Linked DNA regions of Homo sapiens: all the other regions are linked to region 1. The links are contacts of gene promoters, found by promoter capture Hi-C in human tissues and cell types (Jung and others, 2019). All regions are on one chromosome and are shown on one strand. The core of a region is centred on a gene start or on the middle of the fragment in contact, and the rest is flanking DNA. Distances in the headings are between cores, read along the strand shown.

Region 1 (3,937 bases), core at 388-2,887:
TTTCTGCCAACCAGCCTCCAGCTGAGCCAACACTAAAGACTGTTGAGAAAATAGGCATGTATGGATTTAAGCCTCAGCGTTTATGGCCTGGTTTTAGTTTTTCTTTTATGATTCTTTACATTATTAATTTTCAATTAATCGACTAATTACCAGTTCTAATTGAGTCAGCCAGACAGACTAATGTGTTTTCAAAAGGCCAATTTGCCCTCAATCATCTCAATATCTCTTAACTTTTGGAGCTGAAAAGGACCTTAAAGATAACCCAGTCTGATGCCCTCAAGTCACAGATGAAGATGCCCAGGCCCCAAGAGAGGATGTCTTTGACCATGGCCCTCTGGTGACTAGGAAAGCTACATAAGGGCTTCTCCCACTGTTCCACCTAGAAGGCAGTCCTATGAGGGCCCGGAAGAATGCTGTAGCAGGCAGAATACTGATCTCCCAAAGGTGTCCTAATGAAGCCATGCCCCAAAGAGTTAAAAAAACCAATGACTAACAGAAATTCTTGAGTTTGCAGGATGGCAGGTAAGAAAAGAAACAACTTGCTGAAATACTGAAACTCCCTCTGCTTATGAGATATAAGAACTGGCTGAAATCAGCTGGAACCAAGATGGCCGACCAGAGTCTAGGCAGAACCAGCTTGCTGATGTCACAGACTAAATTTCCACCATGTGCTTTATACTAACTTTCCCCATAATTGCCCAGGGGACCCATAAAATAGTATGAAGAGATAACTGCATATGACCCAGGACTTTCCAGCCCTTCCCTTTCTTCCACCAAATCACCTACTAATCTTAGAATCCCCTAAACTTTTTCTAATAAAAATACTGCATCACAGGAGACAGATTTGAGGTTGACACTGCTGTCTCCTTGAAAATCGACAATATATTGATTATATATTTAAAATTAAATATTTATATTTCAATAAAAAGCCTTTTCTCAAACACCCAGTGTCATAGCGTTGGCTTCCAATGCATTGAATCACTTTTGTTCGGTAACACTCACCCCTGGAACCTCTGAATGTGTTAGTTTGCATGGCAAAAGAGACTTTGCAGATGTGTTTAAGGTTAAAGACTTTGAGAAGCAGAGGTTATCCTGGATGGTCCGGCTGGACCAATCTAATCATGAGTCCTTAGACAGGGAAGGGGAGGAAGAAAAGAGGGTCAGAAAGATACAATGACAGAAGAAGAGGCAAGAGAAATTCAAAGTGTGAGAGGGTTTGACTCACCCTTGCTGGCTTTGAAGATAGAGGAAGGCAACAGAGCTAAGAAATGCAGACAGTGCTTAGCAGCTGGGAATGGCCCTTAGCCGACAGCCAGCAAGGAAACAGGGAACTCAGCCCTGTGACTGCAGAAACTTTATTCTGCCAACAACCTCAATGAGCAAGGGAATGAATCCTCTTCTAAAGCCTTTGGGAAGGAGCACAGCCCTGCTGACACCTTAATTTTAGGCCTGTGAGACCCATTTCTGACTTCAGGGCTATAGAACTTTAAGATAATAAATTGTGTTGTTTAAGCCACTAAATTTGTGGTAATGTATTTCAGCAGCAATAGAAAACTAATACAAATGTGACAGTGACAGACCCTCCCTTTTTCAGAATATCCTGGTGCATAGCAACTGATGTCATAGAAAGGATTCTAGAAGAGCATGTCATGGAGAACTCTTGGGTGCAGACAAGTGGATGATTAATGAAGTAGCATCTGAAAAACCCAAGGAACCAAATGTAGGTGGAGCAACTTCCCTGCAACACACGTCGAAGCTGCTGCAGTGGCTGTTCTTCCCCTCCCCTTGGAAAGGCACCAAAAGCCAGCCTTTGGAAGGGCTGGTGGACTGGTAGGCGGGTATATGGTGGGCAGGAGGGTAACGGGCATGACAATACCCAGCTGCAGGAGAAGCTCATCAGCAAATTCACTTATTGCTTATTTGATGACAGTTCAGTTGGGAAGAGGAGGTTTTTGTTCATTCATTCATTCAACAAAGTTTCATTGAGCACCTACTCTGTATTAGGTTCTGTTCTGAGTTCTGGGGATAATGAAGAGAAAAAACCAGACCAGGTTTCTGCATTCCTGGTGCTTACACTCAGGTATGGGAGAGAGAAAATAAGCAAGTGAACAGATAAATGAGCAATGGAATTCCTGATATTGATTAATGGTATGAAGAAAATAAAGACCGTCTTCTTTGATGGGGCAGTGATCAAGGAATCTTCTTTGAGGTAGTGAGCTCGTATGTGGTGGTCAGGGCAGTCATGTTCCAGGTAGAAGGAATGGCTGGTGCAAAGGACCTGTGGTGGGAATGAAATTGGCATATTCAAGGAAAAGAAATGTGCAAGGTGACTATGGCAGAGTGAAGGTGAACAAAGGAGAGAGTGATGTAAATTCAGACTGGAGAGGTGCTCAGTGGCTGCATCAGAAAGTCTTGTCAGCCAGGTTGAGGAGTTGGGACCTTATTCAAAGTGCAAGGGGAATCCACTGGAGATTAGTGATGTGACTGGACACATGCTTTATAAAATGCCTTTCCAACTGCTGTGTGGGCAGTGGGTTTAGGGGAACAGAGAGGAGTATGTAGTAGAGGAGTGTAGTTAGAAAGTCTCCACCTTAGAGGTGATGGTGGTCTGGATTAGGATGATGGCAGAAAAGATGAGAGGCGAATAGGTTCTGGAAGAACTGTAGATGGCACACCCTGATGAACCTGATGAACTGGCTTCTGGGGGAGAGGGGAGGAGAGGACTCAGTATGCCTTCTACGAGTTGAGATGATGCCTGCCCTGTGGAAGACAGACATTACCAGAAAATGTTGTTTGCTCTGTTGGGAAATGAAACATGCATTGAGATTCACTTTTTTTAATTATTATAATTTAAGTTCCAGGGTACATGTGCACAATGTACAGGTTTGATACATCAGTATAAAAGGGCAGGGGTGCAACCAGAGCTAAGAAAAATGTCCATACAAGTAAAATCTAGTGCTGTGCATATTTAATTCACTTACTCTTCAAATCAACACAATTAATTAAGTACTGTTTTAATCTGTGTTACAGATGAGGAAACTGAGGAATCAAGAGGTTGAGCAATTTGTCTAAGATTACTGCTGGGATCACTGATATCTCAGCCACTGAGGGGTAAAGCTGGAACTTGGACCCAGGCAATCTGATTCCCAAGTCTGAGCTCTTAAATGCAAGGCCCTCCTAGATACTGTATTTGGTGTACTGGTCATGTCTGCAACTAATCATACAGCTTGAGAGTTTGAACAAACGTTTGAAAGTATGATTCTTCTAATTCATGAATACACTTATTTCTAACTTTTGCCCAAGTTAGACATTTCTCAACAGGGGGCAATTTTGTCCCATAGGAACATTTTTGTCTGACATAATTTGGAGGCAGAGCTACTAGCATCTAGAGGCCAGGTGTACTCCTAAACAATCCAATGCACAGGATGTTCCCAGAACTAAGCATATTCCAGCCCAAGTGCCAAGGTTGAGAACCCCCGGTGTAGGTGTATACAGCCAGGAAGACATGCACCTGTGAACGGTGACAAACAGGAGGGTGCAATGAATTGTCCAATTGATATATAACGATGGAGTGCTAGGGGCTATGGGGTATTCCAGGAGGAAGATGAGTTCCAATTTCCAATTGCACATTCTAGTCTGAGGAATGGGACAGAGCACAAAACAGGACAATCATCTGCAGTGTGTCATGGAAGAGACTCTGAGAGCAATAGGGGCTCAGAGGGAAAATGGAACTTTTATGGAGGATCCATCAGGATTCAAGAAGTTGGCACCCGGGGTGAGGCCTCAAGATGCAGCAACATTTGAATGGGGAAAGGCATGGTAGGGCCCTGTGCATTGGGAAGAACCATGCATGAGGGCACAGCTCCCTGGAGAATGGAGTGGGGAGGTGCAGAGGCATCCAGAGAGGGAGTGCCATGAGAATTCTGAGTTTACTTAA
Region 2 (3,937 bases), core at 931-3,430, 60 kb after region 1:
GTTTCCTCTTAAGCTTAAGCACCAGTTCCATATTGCAGTAGCTGGTGTGACAGCACACACTTACTAGCTGCCTTCCCTTGCTCAAATATCTTTCTTCTTCACCTACCCATGTTCCTTCCACTTCCCAAATAAACTACTTGCACTCATATCCTTATCTGAGGGTCAGCTTCTGGGGGAGCTCAAACTAAGACCCATGTGTGAACCTTGCTGTGAGCAACTATGTCCATATTCCCTCACACTTTAGAACATTCATTTCCTCCTAGACCTTCTGAGTCCTTGTTCACCACCCAGCCTTCTGAACTTTGCTACAGGTTTTCCTGCTGTGTCCCGCATCCTGGGGATGTGCCCCAGGAGCCTCTATGGGCAGAGGACTAGGTGGTTCTGGGGACCCTTTGCCCTGTATTAGCCTGAATGGCTCTGCTTTAACCTGTTTACATATGAATTTAATTTGAAAAAAGAGTTCTATTACTGCCACTGAAGAGAAAAGGTGATTCCCAGATGAGAATCTGCTTTTAATGAGTTGAGCTCCTCAGGATCCTGAGTTTACAAGCCTGTGCCTTTCCACCATGTAGGCCCTCATGGAGGTGTCTGCTGACCTTGCCCCATGGCTGCCGCCCTGGCATCACAATAGCAGCCTGAGCAAAGGATGTGGTCCATGGCCACTTAGGCCCTCTGAAGAGAATCGAGGAAACGTTTCTCTCCCTTCCTGAATCTCCAGTCTATACTTCTGGTTCCACATCTTTCCTCATACATTCCTTCCAATCCAGGCAAATGGACTATTCACTTTTCCTATTTTGCAAGGACACTGTCCTTACTTGGCATGTGTGGTAGACGAAATAATGCCCCCCACCCAAGATATCCACTCCCTAGTCCCAGGAGCCTGTGAATGTGTTACTTCACATGGCAAAGGCGATTCTGCAGATGTGGTCAAATTAAGGATCTTGAAGTGGGGAGGGTGTCCTGGATTATGCAGCAGGGGTCCCAGTGTAATCACCAGATCCTTACATGAGAGACGGAGGTGACAGTGGTCAGTCAGTGTGATGCAATGTGAGAAACACTCGACCAGCTGTTGCTGGCTTTGAAGATGGAAGGGAGCCTTGAGCCAGGGAACGTGGGCTACCTCTAGAAGCTAGAAAAGGCAAGAACTCAATTCTAGAGCTTCCATAAGGGGACACAGCCTGTTGACACTTTGATTTAGCCCAGTGAGATCCATTTCAGACTTCCGACCCCCGGAACTGTGAGATAGTAAATCTGGGTTGCTTTAAGCCACTGAGTTTGCAATAATTTGTTACAGCAGCAATAGGAAACTCATACAGTATCTTATGCTGCTCCCTCTGTCTGGGACACCTACCTTTCCCCACTCTCATCTCCACAAGTCCTCCCCAACCTTTCAAGGTCCAGCTTCAGTTCCCCCTCTTATCACGGAACTTCACTTGTCCTGCCTCTCCCCCCGAGCTATTATCCACCCCTTGGGAATTGTCCAACACATCCCCAGCTCCACAGCCCAGGCCCAGGACTGTCCTTCTGCCCTTAAAACACTGTGGTCAATGGCACCAGTTTTTCCCTTCAGCACAACTGGTGCAGACATTTTCAAGAATTCTACTAAAAATCAAAGGGGAAAAGGAATGATCTTCCAAACCACAAACATGAGAAAAATGTGTTATGCTCTCAAGTACAATTTTTTAATTCAAAAAATCCAAGTAGCAGTAGAATGCTGCCAATAGCAACCCTGAGGCACTGTCCTGGCTTCCTGCCCTCCTCCTCCCTGCTGGCTCTCTCCCGGATGATGTCTTGCCCACCGTGGAGCCATCTGATCCCCTCTGGGGCCTCCCACATTTATAGGTTCACACCTTCTGGAGCTCATTTGCTCACTCAGTTCTAGTACGAGGGCCTCAACCAGTCTGCAGCCTTTGGAAGGGCTCTCCTGATGGTCACAGTGGCAGGAGTGCCATATAATTCATGGTCCAAACTAAAACACTTTAGAGAGTAAAAGGAGGTATTAATTGTGCTTGAGTCAGGCGTGGTGGCTCACACCTGTAATCCCAGCATTTTGGGAGGCCGAGGCAGGTGGATCACTTGAGGCCAGGAGTTCAAGACCAGCCTGGCCAATATGGTGAAACCCTGTCTCTACTTAAAGGATACAAAAATTGGCTGGGCATGGTGGCACGCGCCTGTAGTTCCAGCTACTCGGGAGGCTGAGGCAGGAGAATCGCTTGAACTCGGGAGGCAGAGGTTGCAGTGAGCCAAGATTGCAACACTGCACTCCAGCCTGGGTGACAGAGCGAGACCCCATCTCAAAAAAAATAAAAAATAAAAAATACATTGTGCTTGAAGAATGAGTGTAAACCCGACTGTCCTGGGCAAACCACCCACCTCAGCAGTGAGGGGTCTGACTCTTGCTGGCTTGGGTTGTTTGAGGACCCACTTGGGAGCAGCCAGCGCTGCTCTCCTCAGTTCATTTACTAACGCTGATAAAGGGAACAACGTGCTAACCTCATGCTAACCACCCAGACATAAAAGATACAGTCAGACACTAGCAGAAGGCCAAATCAGCGGAGGGTTAAGAAGCGTTCTATGGAAAATTGTGCTCTGTGCTCAGATAAGTCTGGAAAAGCTGTTTTGCATAAGAGTATTTAAGTTTTGGTCTTTAAGTGCAGGACTTCTCAGGACCTTTAATATCCTAATGTGGGTTATGAAGCTCCAAGAAGAAAATACAGTATGCCGTATTTCAGATTTATTTTCCTGTGGCATATGGCCCCCTCAGAATACATTTGGTTGCTTTCCAGGAATCACATATGGTTCCTTCAGGGATTGTTTGAGGCAGATCTGAAATATCAAAGTGGCTAGTATTCTCTGATTTAGGAAATCCAAGTTCCCTTTCACTAAGGAAGCCTCCAGAGATAGATGGCTTATCCCTGAAGAGTCCTTGGAATCCATAAGCCATGTTTCTCTGGATGTGGTAGGAAAGGCTCTGGGGAAGGGAGGGGGTGTTGACAGGCACATATTGAGTGACTGCTTGTATCAGGTAAAATCTGGCCGGGGCTCCTTGTCTCCTGAGTGATGGTTGTTTTAGCAGTTGCGTTATCTTTTGCTAAAAAACCCAGGGGATTCTAGAGTGTCAAGCGATAACAGGGTGGGGCTTCTATCTTCAGCCTTACCCTTGGACCTGAGGCCTGAAGATAAGCCTGCTTCTTATCACAGATTTATTTTTACTATCTTCCAAGCCTGGGACAACAGCTGTTTATAGGGGATGGTTGAGTTGAGTGTTGATTCTGCTGTGGAGGAGGCAAAGTCCCTGCAGTCTGCACATTCGACAGTCTTCATCCATAAGGCATGAGGCCGGAGACCCGTAAAAAGAGTACATTCCTGCGATGGCCCACAGTTGATTATCCACACAGGAAAAATGAAGAACATTTCTTCCTCCAAGAGTCAGTATTTATCATCTCCCTGTTTCTGTCATCATCCTGGGCTTTTATTCCTAGACAATTTTGTACCATTGAGTGCTTTATGATTAGAAATAAATCAGTCCAAGTGTGGTGGCTCATGTCTGTAATCTCAGCACTTTGGGAGCCCAAGGTGGTAGGGATGCTTGAGCCCAAGGGTTCTAGACCAGCCTGGGCAACATAATGAGATCCTGACACTACAAAAAATTAAAAAAATTAGCTGGCCTGGTGGCACATGTTTCTGACCCTGGCTTCTTGGGAGTCTGAGGTGGGAGGATTGCCTGAGCCTGGGAGATTAAGGCTGCAGTGAGCTGTGACTGCACCACTGCACTCCAGCCTGAAAAACAGAGTGACAGCCTGTCTCAAAAAACAAAGAGAGAAAGAGAAAGAAAGAAAGAAAGAAAGAAAGAAAGAAAGAAAGAAAGAAAGAAAGAAAGAAAAGAAAAGAAAAGAAAAGAAAAGAAAAGAAAAGAAAAGAAAAGAAAAGAAAAGAA
Region 3 (3,937 bases), core at 1,006-3,505, 36 kb after region 1:
CTAAGGAAACTTATTATAACAGAGATTTTTTCAACCCAGAAAATGATCTACCCCATAGGCAGACAGTGAGGGTTAAAGGAGATTGTATAGTCAAGTTGACTAGCCTAGTTCCTGGACAAATTATGCTCAACACACACCCTATTCCCTATTCCCTGCTTCTCCTGGACACATGCTCGGGAGACTCACTTGTCACCAAAAGGTCAGACTGCTCTGGAATACTGTCCTACTGCTTCAGGATCCTGCAGCCCTTTGCCCCATCTCATTTCCATGCCTAATGCAATTTTAGAGCATGATGTGTAGTAAGCATGGCTAAAAATTCTGGAAGATTTATTACATTCCCTTGTTCTATAGATCAAGGACAATTTTTAATAAATCCTTGCTTTTGCTGAATGATTTAATATGCCATTGTCTAGGCAACAGAATTGTCTTCAATTAGATTTTAAAACTAATATAGGAAGAAACTTTCCCCTTTCCTTGCCAACATTATTAGATAAGGCCATAAGTCCTGATCAAGAACAAAATTTGCTGGTGCCTCATGGGGACCTTGAAACCGGATTCTCTTTTGCAGCAGTATGGCTCCCTACCTTTTATTCCAGGGCAGGCACCCTGTTGAGGTGGTTGAGGCTACCAGTGGGAAGTGCCCACAGCCACATAGGGCCAGGTGCTGCTCATATAGAGAGATCCGCCCCCGCCAGAGGAAACTGACTTTGGAGAATGAGTCACTCGTTGGGGTCTGGCCCTCAGCCATGTAAGCTCAGAAATTCAATCTTTTAAGTTCCAGAAGTTATTGGATGCTTGAATAAACAACCACTGAGGGACCTGAGAACAAACTGGAAAGAAAATTGACTAATTCTGAGCAGTCTGGAGGTTCACATCAGCCAGATGAGCACATGTTCTCCCTGGAGGCATTGATCTTGGGAAGCCATGTTATCCCAGAGTGGCTTCCTACCCAGGAACTGGCAATGAAGGGCTATTGATGTAAAGTGATGTTTTAATGGCCCCAGGCTTCCCAGGGCAGAGGGTGGGGGGGCACCAACAATGTTCAGCCTCTACTTCCCCACCTTCAGGCTTCCCTGGTCAGCCATGGCCTCCATCAATGGTCCCATTCTCCCTGCGAAGGGTGGATTCCACTGCAGGCCTGGAACTTGTTCTTGGGCCTCTGCACTTCTGCACATTCCTTAATGAGCTGATTTTATGGCTTAACTCTCAGGACATCCTTAATTCCTTCATTTCCACAACCTTGAGGGGTCTGTTTTAGTCGCCCTTATGTGGGTAGAATCTTGGTTTTGATGGCACATGAAGGTGGGGAGGATTGTGGATTTGGGTGGCAGGCGGTGCCATTCTGAGTAGTGTGATAACAGGAGTCACTGTGAGGTGCTGTCGATACACACCTCAGAATCATTAGCTCCTTTAATCCTTCCCACAATCCTGTAAGGAAAGTACTAGTATATTTCCCAATTGACTGAATTCATTCCATCTTTATAACAATGTCTTAAAAGAACATCCAATGTCCCCGCTCCTGCTTTCTGCTGCTGCTGGTGGAGCCTGAAGATAAAGAGGGGGAGTCAAAGGGCTAAAGAGAAGCATAATATATTCTTTAATAAGGAGAACTCTGATGAGCATATTCCTCATGCTTTCTTGTTCATATTACAGAGCATATTTTCATGAATGTGTTCTCCTTATGCCTCCTCAGCCCCCAGCCTGCCTCTCTAGTCCTGTCTCCCCGGCTCTTCCCTCAGCTTCCCTCTCTCTGGGTACTTCAGTCTTCAGTCGAAGAGCAGAGTGCTAAGGCAGACACAAGTTGCATATTTCATAAAATCCTATTATGTAGACAAGATGAAAGCTGGCTAATGAGAACAGAATACTTAAAAGAATCAGATAATTTGGTGGCTCGCTCATTTGGCAGGATGGCTCCCAGTGTACTGGGCAAACTTAGCCATTTGGCTTGACTTTTGACTGTCTTTAGGTAAAGTAACCAGGGCTTGTTTTCCAAATAAGGAAAGCAGAAGCTAGAGAGGCTGAGGAAGTTGCTGGATGTCACAATAACAACGGTTAGATCGACTATTCTACAAAAGTCTGTCTGAAGCTGAGTTGGTGTCTTTGTGCCATTCAGCAGGATAAGAGCACAGGAGAGAAGACAGGATAGAACTCAGAATGGCTCTTGGTGTAGCTGAAGAACTGCTTGTGGAGGCGGGGGGATCCTTGATTTTTAGGCACCAAAAAGTCAGATACTAGGCCAGGTACAGTGGCTCACACCTGTAATCCCAGCACTTTGGGAGGCTGAGGTGGGCGAATTGCTTGAGCCCAGGAGTTCAAGACCAGACTGGGCAACATGGTGAAACCTGGTCTCCACTAAAAATACAAAAAATTAGCTAGGTATGGTGGTGCACCCCTTTAGTCCCAGCCACTCAGGGGAGCTGAGGTGGGAGGATGGGTTGAGGCTTCAGTGGGCTGTGATCATGCCACTGCACTCCAGCCTGGGCAACAGAGTGAGACCCTGTCTCAAAAAAGTTTTAAAAAAAGTCAAATACTATGAATGCCAGAAAGGAGAGAAAATAATTGAGGAGCAATTAGAAAAACTTAATTTATTGTAAGAAAATACACAATGCAAGGTGTGATGCTCTGTGGCTCCTGTCACTTGGCACCAGTGGCGAGGATACAGCAGGGACAGGTGGGGACTGAGGTGAGCTGAAGGGAGGGCCGTATCAGTGTTGTTGATTCTGTAATTTTTCAAAAACAGCTAGAAATCCTGATTTTGATATTAAATCTCCCAAGTCGTAAGTGTAACTTCAAATTAATTCATACTGGCTCAGGATATCGGTGGCCTCGACAGTTGGTTGGCATGAAACCATCACTAAATCCCAAAGCTGGGTGAAAAGTACTGTGCTGTGGGGGATGAAAATTCTGACTACAGTGAAGAATAGATGAAGAGGTCAAGAAGTACTTACAAGAATAACATTTTACCACTAAAAAGAAATCCATTTCAACTATGTCACCCCCTGCACTTGGAGTGAATAATTTAAAGTACAGGTTTTGGAACCAGAAAAGTCTGTTGCTGAATCCCAGCTCTACCACTGATTTGCTCTGCAACCCACAGCAAATCGATCAACCTTTCAGTGCCTTTGTTTCCTCACACCTTAATTCCTGAGCTTTCAATGCAATAAGATATATGAAAAGCAAGATAAGGAGCAGATGGAAGGTTCTTAAACAATGGTACTTGCTAAAATAGCAATACTGAGAATTATCATTGTGATAATAATGATAACTATTATCAGTAAATTTATAAACCTCGAGGAACGCTCTACTGGGAACTCGGTTTCTAAAAGTTATTTTCCTGGGTGTTTTTTCCATGAGGATGATGAGGCATTTTGGTCTTACTTTTTCATTTCATTATCCTTACATTTAGAAGTCACAAAGCCTAACCCATATATATATACATATTAGCAAATATATACATGTATTTTTATTTCTGTCTGCAAAGCATTCAGGGAACTCAAGTAATCCATTGAAATTCAAACCCAGTGGGAATTTCTGACACTGGACTTTAACAGCTTAAGGCATCTCAAAAAGCTTCTATCTACTGACCTTTAAGGGAAGGTGTGCTTTGGGAGGATTCACACAGAATTCAGCCACTTTCTGATGCACAGGGCTTCTTAATTCCATTCTTCATCCCTTCCTGATTGTGCATGTCTTAGTGTGCTATTCAGCTTAGCCCAATCTGTAGTCATTGCCGGCAATGAGAAAAGTGGTCGTTCTTAAGGTTCTCCCCCAAGGACCTGCACACACACATGCACACCCTCCCCCACGCCCATGCTATGGCTAAAGCTAAACAGCTTGTACTAAGAGCTGGGTAAGGGTGTGTGTGTGAAATAGTAACCCTTGTGTTTTGGAAAGAGTAAGAAATTCTCTCAACACAGTCCCATGTTGCCCTAGGTCA

The links. The method cuts DNA at HindIII sites, captures the fragments that hold promoters and counts their contacts. A contact is called where the count stands out against the background at its distance.
Region 2: a fragment that was not itself captured here is called in contact with the fragment with the promoter of LYZL4 in region 1 in 1 of the 25 tissues and cell types used here (mesendoderm cells).
Region 3: a fragment that was not itself captured here is called in contact with the fragment with the promoter of LYZL4 in region 1 in 1 of the 25 tissues and cell types used here (spleen).

The regions. Positions count from the first base shown.
Region 1 is chr3:42,408,310-42,412,246 of GRCh38, reverse strand. LYZL4 (lysozyme like 4) reads left to right here and starts at 1,637. Exons shown (of 5, transcript NM_144634.4): 1 at 1,637-1,830. The HindIII fragment of the contact is 17,536 bases long and covers 1-3,937 here.
Region 2 is chr3:42,349,139-42,353,075 of GRCh38, reverse strand. No RefSeq gene overlaps it. Among named protein-coding and RNA genes, the nearest start is that of LYZL4, 60 kb to the left of the region's middle. The HindIII fragment of the contact is 5,410 bases long and covers 1-3,937 here.
Region 3 is chr3:42,373,408-42,377,344 of GRCh38, reverse strand. It overlaps a transcript of LYZL4 not described here. Among named protein-coding and RNA genes, the nearest start is that of LYZL4, 35 kb to the left of the region's middle. The HindIII fragment of the contact is 7,901 bases long and covers 1-3,937 here.